2 separate regions of the Homo sapiens genome follow, and region 1 is linked to region 2. The links are contacts of gene promoters, found by promoter capture Hi-C in blood cells and fetal thymus (Javierre and others, 2016). All regions are on one chromosome and are shown on one strand. Each heading gives the region's core, a stretch centred on a gene start or on the middle of the fragment in contact. The rest is flanking DNA. Distances are from core to core; before and after follow the strand shown.

Region 1 (6,505 bases), core at 12-2,511, 760 kb before region 2:
CCCAGCCTCCGATAGCGCCCGCGTCGCCGCCACAGCAGCGTTCAGGACCCAACGAGGGGCCCAGGGCCATGGGAGCCGCCAGAGTCCTGGCTTCCAGACGTGCCAGGGGCGCCTGCAACGCCGGGCCTCCAGCGGGGAGACTCCACTTGCCTCTCAGCTATATTTGTGATTTACTTGAGTCTTTCGGAGCCGTGGAAAATAACTACAGAGATACTAGGCACTGCCAAGGAATGCTTCCATTATCGCCCTCATTTTACTCCTGGAGGTCTAAGCAAGACCCCAGTAACCCGCCCCACGGATCCCCAGACCCCAGGCAGCCTCTGTGGCTGCAGGGAGCCTGGGCCCACTCGCTGGGTTCAAGGAGAACCCTCCGACTTGGGGCCCGGCTGGCTCGAGGAACCGGACCCTGTGATGAAGATTTTCCAGGCTGGATACGTAAGCAAATCAAATCGCAAACTAATGACACGAAAACCATATTCACACGAAAGAAAAATCGACTACGGTTATAAAAGTGTATGGAATTTGACCTCGCCTTGGAGAAACACTACACAAAAGCTATCTTTAATAGACGCCTGTCATTTAAGAGCGGCAGGGACACTGTCCCTCATGCGCTCGCAAAAACAGAGCCGTAATTGTAGCTGCTGCTGCTGCGGGCAGGATTTATTTCTCCAATTGGCTAAATGGCTTTCCCCCTTCCCCGAAGGTGATATCTGTATTTTCAAAATTCAGAGCTGCTGGCAGGACGGTCAGTACCGACCCCAACCTCGACACAAAAATAAGAGGGGCTGCAAAACGGGGGAAATAAAGTTGTTGTAAATAAAATGCAAGTCACCACCTCCCCCCAATCCTCTGCATCCTCGCCGGGCGCGCGATCGGCAGCTGACGGCCTAACAATTGGTACATCCTAATGGAACTGCGAGGGAAATGCAATAATTTTGCCATAATGGGCTGTAACCTCAATTCGACCCCGGCCCTTGCAGCCCCCGGTCGGAAGCTGGGCGATGAGCCCTGCCTCCAGCGGGTGGCGCTCGAGTCCGGCTGAACGGCGGCAACTGGCGGCGGGCACGCGCCCGGGGCGCGCGCGCCACCCCCCTCGCCTCCACCCAACTCCCCTATTAGTGCACGAGTTTACCTCTAGAGGTCATCAGGCAGGATTTACGACTGGACAACAAAAGCACGTGATTCGAAGTCGTACCCCATATTTGGGTGCCTACGTAGGAGGGAACCAAGTACATGTCCCAGTCATTTCCATAATTCATCATAAATTGTGCAAGGGTGCTATAGACGCACAAACGACCGCGAGCCACAAATCAAGCACACATATCAAAAAACAAATGAGCTCTTATTTTGTAAACTCATTTTGCGGTCGCTATCCAAATGGCCCGGACTACCAGTTGCATAATTATGGAGATCATAGTTCCGTGAGCGAGCAATTCAGGGACTCGGCGAGCATGCACTCCGGCAGGTACGGCTACGGCTACAATGGCATGGATCTCAGCGTCGGCCGCTCGGGCTCCGGCCACTTTGGCTCCGGAGAGCGCGCCCGCAGCTACGCTGCCAGCGCCAGCGCGGCGCCCGCCGAGCCCAGGTACAGCCAGCCGGCCACGTCCACGCACTCTCCTCAGCCCGATCCGCTGCCCTGCTCCGCCGTGGCCCCCTCGCCCGGCAGCGACAGCCACCACGGCGGGAAAAACTCCCTAAGCAACTCCAGCGGCGCCTCGGCCGACGCCGGCAGCACCCACATCAGCAGCAGAGAGGGGGTTGGCACGGCGTCCGGAGCCGAGGAGGACGCCCCTGCCAGCAGCGAGCAGGCGAGTGCGCAGAGCGAGCCGAGCCCGGCGCCGCCCGCCCAACCCCAGATCTACCCCTGGATGCGCAAGCTGCACATAAGTCATGGTAAAGCCAGCCTTTTTCTAAATCCACGCGACCGCGGGGACGCGGCTCTCGGTCCCCCCTCTCTTCTCTGCCGCCCTCTCCCAGTCTCTCTTGGTCTCATTTCTCCCAGCCCTGCGGAGCTCTCCTTGCCGTTCTCCCTCCCCTGCCTTCCTCCTTCCTCCTCTTCTTTGCGAGCACCCTGCGCTCACAAATAGTGGGGGAAATGGGCGTTCTCTGGGACAGTTTAGACGTTGGAAGGGGGAGGAAGCAAAAAACCCCTCTGGAACCCCACGCCTTGGGACGCGCTCCCGGGTCAGGCCAGCCGAGCAAGGCGCAGAGAGGTAGAGGATGGCTGTAGCAGCCGTGAATCGGGCTTGTCACGGCGGATAATTTATGAGGAGGGCTACGCTGGGGAAACAGCGTTACTAATTACAGCCCCCGAAAAGGGGCTTGGGGGAAAGAATCGAGGCGAGAGCCTGCAGGATTCTGAATTTTGGGGGCAGGAGGGAGAGAGAAGGAAAGGGAAGAAAAAGAAAACAGGCTCCCCAACCCTGCAGGCTGGAAACGGGAGGCGGCTCTCGGGGCTGGAACTTTGAGGGAGGGTGACCCGAAGGCCACTTGGGCGCTCAGGAAAGGGCCTTGCTTCCTGGGTTTCTGTGCGGTGGGCAGCCTGGGAGGGCTGTGCCTCCCGATCGGGGCGCCCGGGGCAGGGCGGAGGGGGCAGGAGAGGGGCCAGGGAAAGCCGGAGTCCGCCGGGACACGGCCCCAGCCTCAGATGGGCAGATTGTTCCCAGGGTCCAAATCGTATTGTTTTCTTTCTAGAAAGGAAGAGAGAAGGAAATTCGGGAGGGGTGTGCGGGCTGGTAGGCAGAACTTGTTGAGCTTTTCGCCTGGGTTCCCTGCTCATGACCCAAGCTTGTCCCCCTGGCGGACTTTGGAAGACAGGAGTTGGTGGCTAAACCGCTGACTTTTCTATTGCAGACAACATAGGCGGCCCGGAAGGCAAAAGGGCCCGGACGGCCTACACGCGCTACCAGACCCTGGAGCTGGAGAAGGAGTTCCACTTCAACCGTTACCTGACCCGCAGAAGGAGGATTGAAATAGCACATGCTCTTTGCCTCTCCGAGAGACAAATTAAAATCTGGTTCCAAAACCGGAGAATGAAGTGGAAAAAAGATAATAAGCTGAAAAGCATGAGCATGGCCGCGGCAGGAGGGGCCTTCCGTCCCTGAGTATCTGAGCGTTTAAAGTACTGAGCAGTATTAGCGGATCCCGCGTAGTGTCAGTACTAAGGTGACTTTCTGAAACTCCCTTGTGTTCCTTCTGTGAAGAAGCCCTGTTCTCGTTGCCCTAATTCATCTTTTAATCATGAGCCTGTTTATTGCCATTATAGCGCCTGTATAAGTAGATCTGCTTTCTGTTCATCTCTTTGTCCTGAATGGCTTTGTCTTGAAAAAAAATAGATGTTTTAACTTATTTATATGAAGCAAGCTGTGTTACTTGAAGTAACTATAACAAAAAAAGAAAAGAGAAAAAAAAACACACAAAAAGTCCCCCTTCAATCTCGTTTAGTGCCAATGTTGTGTGTTGCACTCAAGTTGTTTAACTGTGCATGTGCGTGGAAGTGTTCCTGTCTCAATAGCTCCAAGCTGTTAAAGATATTTTTATTCAAACTACCTATATTCCTTGTGTAATTAATGCTGTTGTAGAGGTGACTTGATGAGACACAACTTGTTCGACGTGTAGTGACTAGTGACTCTGTGATGAAAACTGTGACTCCAAGCGGTGTGTCCCTGCGTGCCTTTATAGGACCCTTTGCACGAACTCTGGAAGTGGCTCTTATAAGCGCAGCTTCAGTGATGTATGTTTTTGTGAACAAAGTTACAAATATTGTCCAAGTCTGGCTGTTTTAAGCAAACTGTGATCAGCTTTTTTTTTTTTTTTTTTTTTTTTGTATTTGTTTTTAAGGAAAAAATACTGACTGGAACAAAAAATAAACTTTCTATTGTAAGTTCTCTTGGTCTGGTTTGTGCCAAATAGTGAGCGGCTCTGTCTGCTTTTCTGTCTGTCTGTGCAGTCTTGGAAGCTGTTGGGTCTGAGGCTACCTGAGCAGATGACCTGTGCAGGGAGACCTCATACCAACACTGTCCCATCGCTTCCCTACCTCTGACCCATTGCAAAGTTCAGGGCAGAAGGTGGAAAAAGCTGTAGGCTGTTCCAAAGCCCCAGAACACCCTGTCCATCTCTGAGGAAACCAAGTTAACTTGCTGGGTACAAAAAAGAGAGAAAGAGCAAGAAAAAAGGAGAAAAAACCCAGGGCTTTGTTAGCCGCCCTCAGGCCACACAGATCCTGCCTCTTTCCTAAGGCTGTCCTAGGCCTCCACTTGCTGAAGACGCTGCTATGTCTGTCTGTGGACCCCAAACCCTCTGCCCTTAACCCATCCCAGCACCCCTTCCCCACTCTTCACCCGGGACCCAGTTGGCTTCTTTTGCTACAATTAATTTGCTACAAATTGAAGGTACTTACCCCATCCTAGCTCGATTGGGAAACTCCTCAGAGCAGCTAAAGCGCAACTAGAGATTTGCACATTTACCGACTGCTTACACTGATGCCGTCTTTCCTTTTAAAAGTTATAAAACAGTAAACTTTATAAGCCCCAGTTCCGGCTATATGACATTTGGGTGCCAAATGAATAGGGTTTTGTCTATGAATTAGATCGTAAAATCATCCATAGCACAGACAGATCGGCTCACTGGCTATAAAACGTCACGTGGGGCCATTAAAGTAAGTTTTATGGTTTTGGGGAGTTGACATCCAACATTATATACCACATAACATATAATCTCACTAACGCTGGACTCCATTTGACTCTTTTGCAGGCTACGTGTGCCGCCTGGCCATTCAAACTGTCAATTTTAGGTCCAGAAGTGTCCAAACCACAAGTTCTCAAAACTCTCTGAAAAATGGCTCCCTCCGAGTTAAGGTAAGCTCGCCTCCTGAGCGCTTTCAAGTTTATTTGTACTTTGGAAACTTTCTCTCTCTCTCTCTCTCTCTCTCTCTCTCTGGTTCAATAACTCAGGCTGCCTCTGAATTCGAAAAGGCAGAGCAAACTTTCCCTCTGCCCAAAAGAGCAGCGCCAGGAGCCAACTCTGCGGAGGCAGCAGAGTGAGCAGCGCCTGTGGCCGCGCCGCATCCCCAGGCCTAACTTTAATTGCAGCACAACCGCGGATGTTAATGACTTCCGCTGCTCCCGCCGGCGTGCAAAAAGATGATTTTTGTGTGCGAATGGGCCTGTGTGTGGGGACCTGGCAGGGCCGCACCCCCAGTCCCCCGCGCAATTGCTGGGCCGGCCGGGGCCAGCTCCTGGGGGTCGCGGAGCCCTGGGGTCGGGGCTGGGAGACAGTGGGGCGCCGGCCGCGGGCGCCGAGGGCCGCGCTGCGCTCAGGAGTTTGAAAGAAAGGCCGGGGCAGGGCCGAGGCGGACTCTGGCGGGATTCCTTACGGGGCTGTGGCAATATGTCTTCGCGGGCCGGGGTCATTTGGCAGGGCTGAATTGAGGCGGCGGCCTTCGGGGCCGGGTTTCAGGCTAGCTCGCGAGAGCGGGAGGGTGGCAGAGGCCGGCGAGGCTGGGGCTGCACCTCCAGGCTGGGCCCCCGGGTTGCAAGGTGGATCCTGGGCTGCTAGCGCCCACTGGACCCTGAGGACCAAGGATCCCCACCCTGGTGTGGGGGGGTGTTCAGGACCCCCTCCCCCGCACCCGGGACCAGGCCCTGAACCCTGTTTGCCTGCATGTTCTTTTTATTTCGGCGGGACTGTTCTCAGCCGCTTGTGAGTCTGAAGCAATAAACTTTATGGCCGGATTTAACTTTAGTCTTTGAATCCCCAGGCTAATTGAAAGGGGTTAAAGCGCTTTCTTTTCTTCCGCTTTGCCTTTCTTCTCCCTCTCTTCTTTCCTGTTCCTCTCCTTCTTTGTAGAATTAAAAACATCTACGCACAGGACCCTCAGAAGGCAACTTAGGCGGCCCCCTGGATAACATTAAGATTGGAGAAATTCACTCCCCCTCAACATACAGGCGAATTCTCTGTTCCAAACTGTGCTCTAAAGTTTTGGGGGAAATTGAGGTGTCTTCAGTGCCCAACTTAAAAGTCCCCAGAGCCATTAGGTTGTTTTTCCTGACACATCATAAACGGTAGTTTAGGGAAGAAATTGGTCCTTTGTCAGTAGGAGATTTCCGCCTTTCTTTTGTTAGTTGCTCTTTCTGTTTGATCCCAGGAAATTTACATAATCTATGATTTCCAGAACAGTCTCCAAAATTGCACCAATGGGTGAAGTAAGGTGAAATAAGTTTATCCTGGGCACAATTCCATATTGGCCCCAGTCACCCCTTCTGGCCCCAACCCCCCATATTCTTCAATGGCAAAACCCAAGCCCAGTGACTGGGGACTGTGGCCTGTCCTGGGATCTTTTTCTGGATGGGTACCCACAAGGGACCCAGTAGATTTCCTCCAATCCTATTTTAGGAATTAAGCCAAATTCTCCTACTGCATTCAGAAATGAAACAAAAAATAGGATCTGCTTTTCTCCTTAGGAGCTGGGCAGTTTTCAGCAAGTATTAATTGGTAAAGATAC
Region 2 (6,496 bases), core at 3,969-6,468:
AACAAGAATCAAATATTAACAATCAGATACATGTTAATTCTCCTCAAATCTGTAGAAACAAACTCTATTTTTATCTTCAGTTCAACAAGCACTGATTAAAATTTCTTCATTAGGCAAATTTCATAAGCAAAGTTCTTGATCTACTTTTCTTACTTTCACTGAAAATTAAACCAGAACAAACTATTCCAGGATTACTTCATGGAAAAAAAAATGTAACAGTATTTCTAGCAAAGCCATTGGATTTGTAATCTTTCATGAGCACTGCTGTATCTTATATATGAAACATTAATCTAAGTGTTTGTTAGGAATTCTCAAAGATGGTCTTATTATAAACCAGAAGCCAATACCAAATTGGTTGCTAGTGGTATATTACCAGAGATGTCTTGTGGGATAATGGTTTTAACCAAACAATTATTTTATAACTTGTTTAAAGAATAATTCCGTGACATTATGGATAACGGTAAAACTCAATTTGGGCTGAAAATTTACACTGAGGTCAAAGTATAGCTGTTGCTTTTTGCACTTTAATGAGCTAGCTTTAAATTTTTTTATTCACATATATCAACATCTTCATTGATCAAACTATTCTCACACTTTATCAAATTTGCTTTGGTAGAGGATACAATACAATTTCATCATTTAAAAAATATTAAAGATTCATAGATAGCCACATTATTCATAATGCAAGATTAATGCCAGGCTGACAGGTTTTTGTAAAGATCTGACTCTTTTTTTCTAAGTGCCTATACCGTATCTATGTGAAATATACCTCTGATGTTGCATATTGATTACTCCCTTCTCTTCTCTTCTAATGCTAAAGAGAGAATATTATGAAATGATTGTCAGGGTTAGTGTGTCTCTGACCTACACATGTACTATTAATAATTTATGAGCTGATTTGAAATACGGCACCAAGAAATCAACTGAGGACCACAGCCGCTCCCAGGATGACATAGACTCTGGGTTGACAGCATATGCGCCCAGATTTTGAGGTTCTATTTGTTAAAATTCATAGAGAGACACAAATTCTTTGAGTGCCAGAGTTAACCGAATGGAAGGAAACCACGCTTCTTTGTTAGAAATTTCAAGTAGCTACATTTATCTCTTTTCATCCAATCCTTTCTGTGACATGAAATTTCCTTTTTAAATTATTTAATCAGGTTGTCAAGTTAACTCATAGTGTCCATAAACACTGGAGAAGCTAAATTCAAATAATATGGAGGTATATAAAGCAAAAGATCAGGTCTTTCGTCTTATTTCCCCCATGCCTTCACACTCAAAGGTTGTCCGGTGTGTATCCTTCCAGACTGTTTTCTGTGTTCCTACGAAGACAGAGGAGGTGGGGAGAGAGAGTTCCCACTGTTCTCAGAAATGGTCTCACACTCTACACACACTGCTGCAGGCTGCTTTTTCCACTCAACAACATATCAAAGACACCGCCCACATCAGCACATACATTTGTAGCTCAACTTTTAAACAACAATGTAGTGTTCCACTTTAGAGGTGTCCTTTGGCTCATTTATCCATTCCCTTATTAATATATTCGTAAGCTGTCTCAGATTTTTCATGATTTACAATGCCGCATATACTGAACATACATACTTATGCACTTGCTCAACTGTTTCACTAATATAGAGTCCTAGAAGTGGAGTTGCTGGGTCAGTAACTGATCGTTAAATATCCTTAATCCATTAATTCGGCAAGGATAAATAAATATTCTTACTTAAGATTTAAATAATGTAACATTACATTAACATATATGCTCATGATGTTTAAGTTCATTTCTTTAAAAAAGTTGGCTGGGCTTGGCAGCTCATGCCTATAATCCCAGCATTTTAGGAGGTTGAGATGAAAGGATCACTTGAGCCAAGGAGCTCAAGACCAACCTGGGCAACATAGCAAGACCTGCCTCTATTTTAAAAATACAAAAATTAGCCAGGCGTGGTGACATTCGCCTGTGGTTCCAGCTACTTGGGAAGCTGAGGTGGGAGGATTGCTTAAGCCCAGGAGTCTGAGGCTGTAGTGAGCTAAGATAGCACCACCACACTCCAGTCTGGGCAAGAGAGTGAGACCCCATCTCTTTAAAAAAAAAAAAAAAGTACATTTTTGAAACTTTAATAAAATAGAGTAATTTTAAAAATTAGTTATATTAATTTCATGTTTGAGTAGCTTTATACAAAGCAAACTAAAGTCTAAGTTTTTTAATGCTTTAGCAATATGTCGTCAAGCCACACATCTATATATTTTATTTTTAAATCATTGTCCAAAGCAGCCAGTCTTCATTTTAGCAATACTACAAATAACTAGCACTTGAAAAGTGTATTTATAGAGACTGACAACTGTTAAACTACTGAATGCTTTTCAAAATATATTTTAAAAATTTTATGTGTGAAAACATTTCATGTAAGGAATCTAATTATAAACAATGCTGTTATGTTTATTTCAAACCATCCCAGGCAAGTATATTTGTAAAATTCTCTTCTTTTCACCTAAATTGTTTCAAGCCTTCTACAGAAAGTGTAATGGTTACCCAGTGTGTCTGTCAAGTTCTATTATATGAACTGGAATATGCTTTCAGAAAAGATACCTCGCATCCGATGACAGGCACTTCCTATCTGCTAGGATTCATAAAAATTGGAACACTGATCATTTCTTGTAGAGATTTTCTTTAGCAAGAAGATAAAGGGAAACCTTGTTATGCCAAATGACTTACTAGTCAAAAGTAGCCAGGACATTGAAACCTGGAAACTAGTTAATGGTTTGTAACAAGTCAGAAATAAAGATGTTCAACCAAGAAAATGACATTAAGCAGCACTGGCTACAAGAGAAAAGAGCAGCCTGTCAGAATCATGCAAGGGCTGTGGTGACAGGTAGACAATAAAATGGGATGACACGGGTTCCTCTCAGCAGGGGGTTTTAGCTTTCTCTTGGGAGTTTCCATGCACTTCCTTTGTAGGAAACCTTCTCTCTAAAAATGGCAACAGGCCCCTTGGAGGTCTTATTAAAATTCTCTCCCTGTGTTATGAAGTGTGTTGGATAAGGCAGATGACAGTACCTGAACAGTTAATTCTTCATTGTATAAAGGAAAGTAGGAACAGCGGTCACACCAGGAAGGTAGCTAGGTGGCTGACATAGCCCAGTAATATTGCACAGTAGGCATTGTGGAACAGGAAATGAGTGAGAGGGGAAAATCCATCCACAATCCCACCTAGAATGGCAGACAGCAGGAATCCAAACAGAAGCAATATCATACATATGAATATTTCATATTTAGATTGGTATCCATTATATCTGTAAATGAATTTCATATGCTAGTTTAAATCTCCATAGTGGACAGTCCAACAGCATCATTAGGATGAATATTGTTTTCATTTTTAAGAGAAATTTTCTTTCATTCACTTTCTGCCACTAAACTGCAGCTATAACAATGTATCTCTACCTACCTCATTATGGGCCATAAACGATATGCCAAGAAAGAATGAAAAGAAAGCAAAGAACCCAGTGATTGCCCAATGAGTTCCTTAATATCCGTAATTTCAAGGGTTTGATCTCTACTTTATCCACAATAATGCTATTTCAGTTTTTTACTTAACCTTGTTTCAACACAACGTTATATCATTTCATATATGTTTATTTAAAGAGTTTTAATGTCACTAAACTAATTTCCAATAAAGTAATAGCTGTTAGAACAGTCTTTTTTCTTATAAACCATTTCTCTCTTTTTTATTCTATTCCCAACATATTTTAAGCTGTCTAACAAGATAAGCATTTCATAACCTTTTTCAGCTAAATTTTTTTTTCTACTAATGTGTTTTCAACCAGGGGGAGGTCTGTATTTTCCACACTGCACTTCTACATTTAAAATTATTTCTGCTATAGATTAGCTGTCCCTTAGTGAGCTATGAAAGACAAAATCCTAGCCTCTTTAAGCCCGTCTTGTTTGATAGCATGCGATATTTGCATGAAATAAAAAACAAATATTTGTTCTTTTTATACAAGCTGTCAGCACAAGCTTAAGTTGTTTAGAAACCTATTCAGACAAACAGAATTGGTGTTTACCACATGATATATGATGAAAGGTCAACAATAGGTAAAATCAAAATTATTTTAAAAGAAGAAAAGAATTGGCATGCTTTTTTTTAGACAAGGTCTTGTTATATTATCTAGGCTGAATTTGAATTCCCGGACTCAAGGGATCCTCCTACCTCAGCCTCCCAGGGAAGGGAGCTGAGACTACAGGCATGCACTAGTGCGCCCAGCCGATACGCATTTCTTAAACCAAAGGTGATCGTGTTGTGCCATAAAGTACATAGTACACTGACAATTAAAACTTCTTTGTTTACTTGTTTGTTTAAGAAAGCATGGACTTAATTCGAATTGCTCACTTACCAATGTATTAACTTTAGGTCCACCACAGGGATAGGTATAAGAAAATGTTCTTTGTTACCCTAAAAAGTTGCCAATTAAAGTTGCATTTCAGCTCTTTTCTCCAGGGAGCTTTCTGATAGCCAATAGGAACATATTCTTAAGTCAGGCAAGCTGAGCATTCCTGCTATCACTGCCACCTAATCAGAGCCACTGAGTTACCACCTCCAGTTGCCCAACAGAGTCACGCTTCTGCTTATGAAACTGACGACTTCTGAATATGCAAGAGCGGTGATTTACCACAGGATGCTTTCAGGGACAAATGCACTTTCACTCCACCTCTAGAATTTGCACTGTCATGGCTGCCCTGGGGAATGCCTCAAGCCTGGGGACAAATTTCACCCACCCCTAGATCCACTCTGTCCTGTAGCCACAAGGACAGAACTTGTTCTGCTTCCTGTGGACGGTGTCCCATCTGCTGAACACACATTTTAATACATAAACTCTATTTCCAGGAATAATACCTATTGGTATTAACAAGAAAATAGCATTTCTACAAGACTCTGTGAAAAGAAACCCTGTCAGTGCCACTCATTCTACCTTCAGAGACAAGTCCCTGTAATTACTTTCTCCTTATTTCCTTGTCTGGCTAAAGCAACAAGATCAAAAGAACCTATCCATTTTCCCCAGATACCTTCCAAAATGTGCGTTTGCTTTGCAGTCTGGGATCAGAAATTTCATTATCTGTATTTGTATTAGTAATTCACTGCACAAAGAGAACAGAGGGCAGAGAAAGAGAGCACGAGTGGAAGCAAACATCACAGACAATTGTATATATGCAAATACTTGCAAATTTCTGCCAGCATCTCCCTATCTACAACCAAGCAACATGGAAGTCTATTCATCCCTCCAGCTTCTTTGCTGCCAAATATGGTTGTGGTTCTGGGGAAAACATTCAGAAAATGTTCAACTTTCAGCCACCAGGACTAAATCTAACTCAAAACCTACAACATAAAAGGCTAATGCATAAATAAAATCAGTGATTTTCTAGAAAGACTTGGGATATGCAACATTCTGATACAAAGGGTAAAAAATAAGATTGGCTTGCGAGGGGGGTGGAGGAAGGAAGGGAATGGTTGCATGCAGCTCTCCAACCTAATTGACAGAGAACTGAAATGTTGCCTCTTGTCTGTCTGGGATTGTGCATTTGCATAAATAGCCTAAGTAAGAAGGGGTATAAAAAAGCCGGGAACAGTCCTGATAAAGAAAATGCCCCAAATTCAAATTCATAAATGCAAATGCTCATTTTCAAATATATATGCATAGTGTTTGAAAATGACAGCAAGAATCATCATGTATTTTGTTTTGTCTTGAAATCAATTATTCCCAAACAATAACGGTTTATCAAAATTTTTCATGACTTCCTTTATTTGTAGATATTTATTCTACCCACTGCAAATCACTGATAATGGTAATAATTCACACATATACATGTCTTTCACATATAATAATTCAGTGCATCCTTAAAATTATGCTTTGAGGTAGGGTCAGTATTATACCCATTTTACAGGTAAACAGACCAAGCCTCCAAAGTTTAGAGAGTTATTCAAATTTACATAACTAGTAAATTAGTAAATGGCAGGACTGAAATTCAAACCCTCATGCTTAACTCTGAATCCCAAGAGCCTCCACACCATGATGCTGTGTAACATTACCAAAGATGTAATGGCCTCGGCCATATTTTGCCCCTCAGCAACGTTTGACCCTGCTGGCTGTGCTGCTCTGGAAGCCCTCTGCTTTCCTTATTCTTGGGAATGGCTCTTTGATTTGTCTTCTGCCTCTTAGATTGTCTCAGTCACTTCCAGGGTCTCCTCTTCTGAGGTCTTCTGTCTACCCTTCTTTTTCTCTGCCATCAGTGAGCAATCTCACTCAATTCCACTCCTTCATTTATTAATTCAACAAATATACTTTGAGCACCTCCTATGTGCCAGGCACTAGTCTAGGCATGTGGGATACCACCGTGAACAACAGCCTGTCTCCCTCCTCAAATAAAGCTTATATTGTCATGGGGATGCAGAGGACATAGATAAAAACAAACAGATATCTATTTAGATACAGGTGATTGATGCTA

What was found. Contacts are between HindIII fragments. The CHiCAGO score rates a contact against its expected background, and 5 or more counts as called.
Region 1: the fragment with the promoter of HOXA5 here is called in contact with a fragment that was not itself captured in region 2 in 6 of 17 cell types (neutrophils, M1 macrophages, naive B cells and 3 more); the score reaches 9.4 in neutrophils.

The regions. Positions count from the first base shown.
Region 1 is chr7:27,138,437-27,144,941 of GRCh38, reverse strand. HOXA5 (homeobox A5) reads left to right here and starts at 1,261. Exons shown (of 2, transcript NM_019102.4): 1 at 1,261-1,896; 2 at 2,857-3,890. The coding sequence starts at 1,335. The coding sequence ends at 3,107. HOXA3 (homeobox A3) reads left to right here. Exons shown (of 6, transcript NM_153631.3): 2 at 4,756-4,859. HOXA-AS3 (HOXA cluster antisense RNA 3) reads right to left here and starts at 4,578. Exons shown (of 3, transcript NR_038832.1): 1 at 4,403-4,578. RefSeq lists an enhancer at 4,854-5,432. The HindIII fragment of the contact is 13,335 bases long and covers 1-2,792 here.
Region 2 is chr7:26,386,624-26,393,119 of GRCh38, reverse strand. All of the region lies in intron 1 of SNX10-AS1 (SNX10 antisense RNA 1), which reads left to right. Among named protein-coding and RNA genes, the nearest start is that of LINC02981, 8.7 kb to the left of the region's middle. The HindIII fragment of the contact is 2,407 bases long and covers 4,015-6,421 here.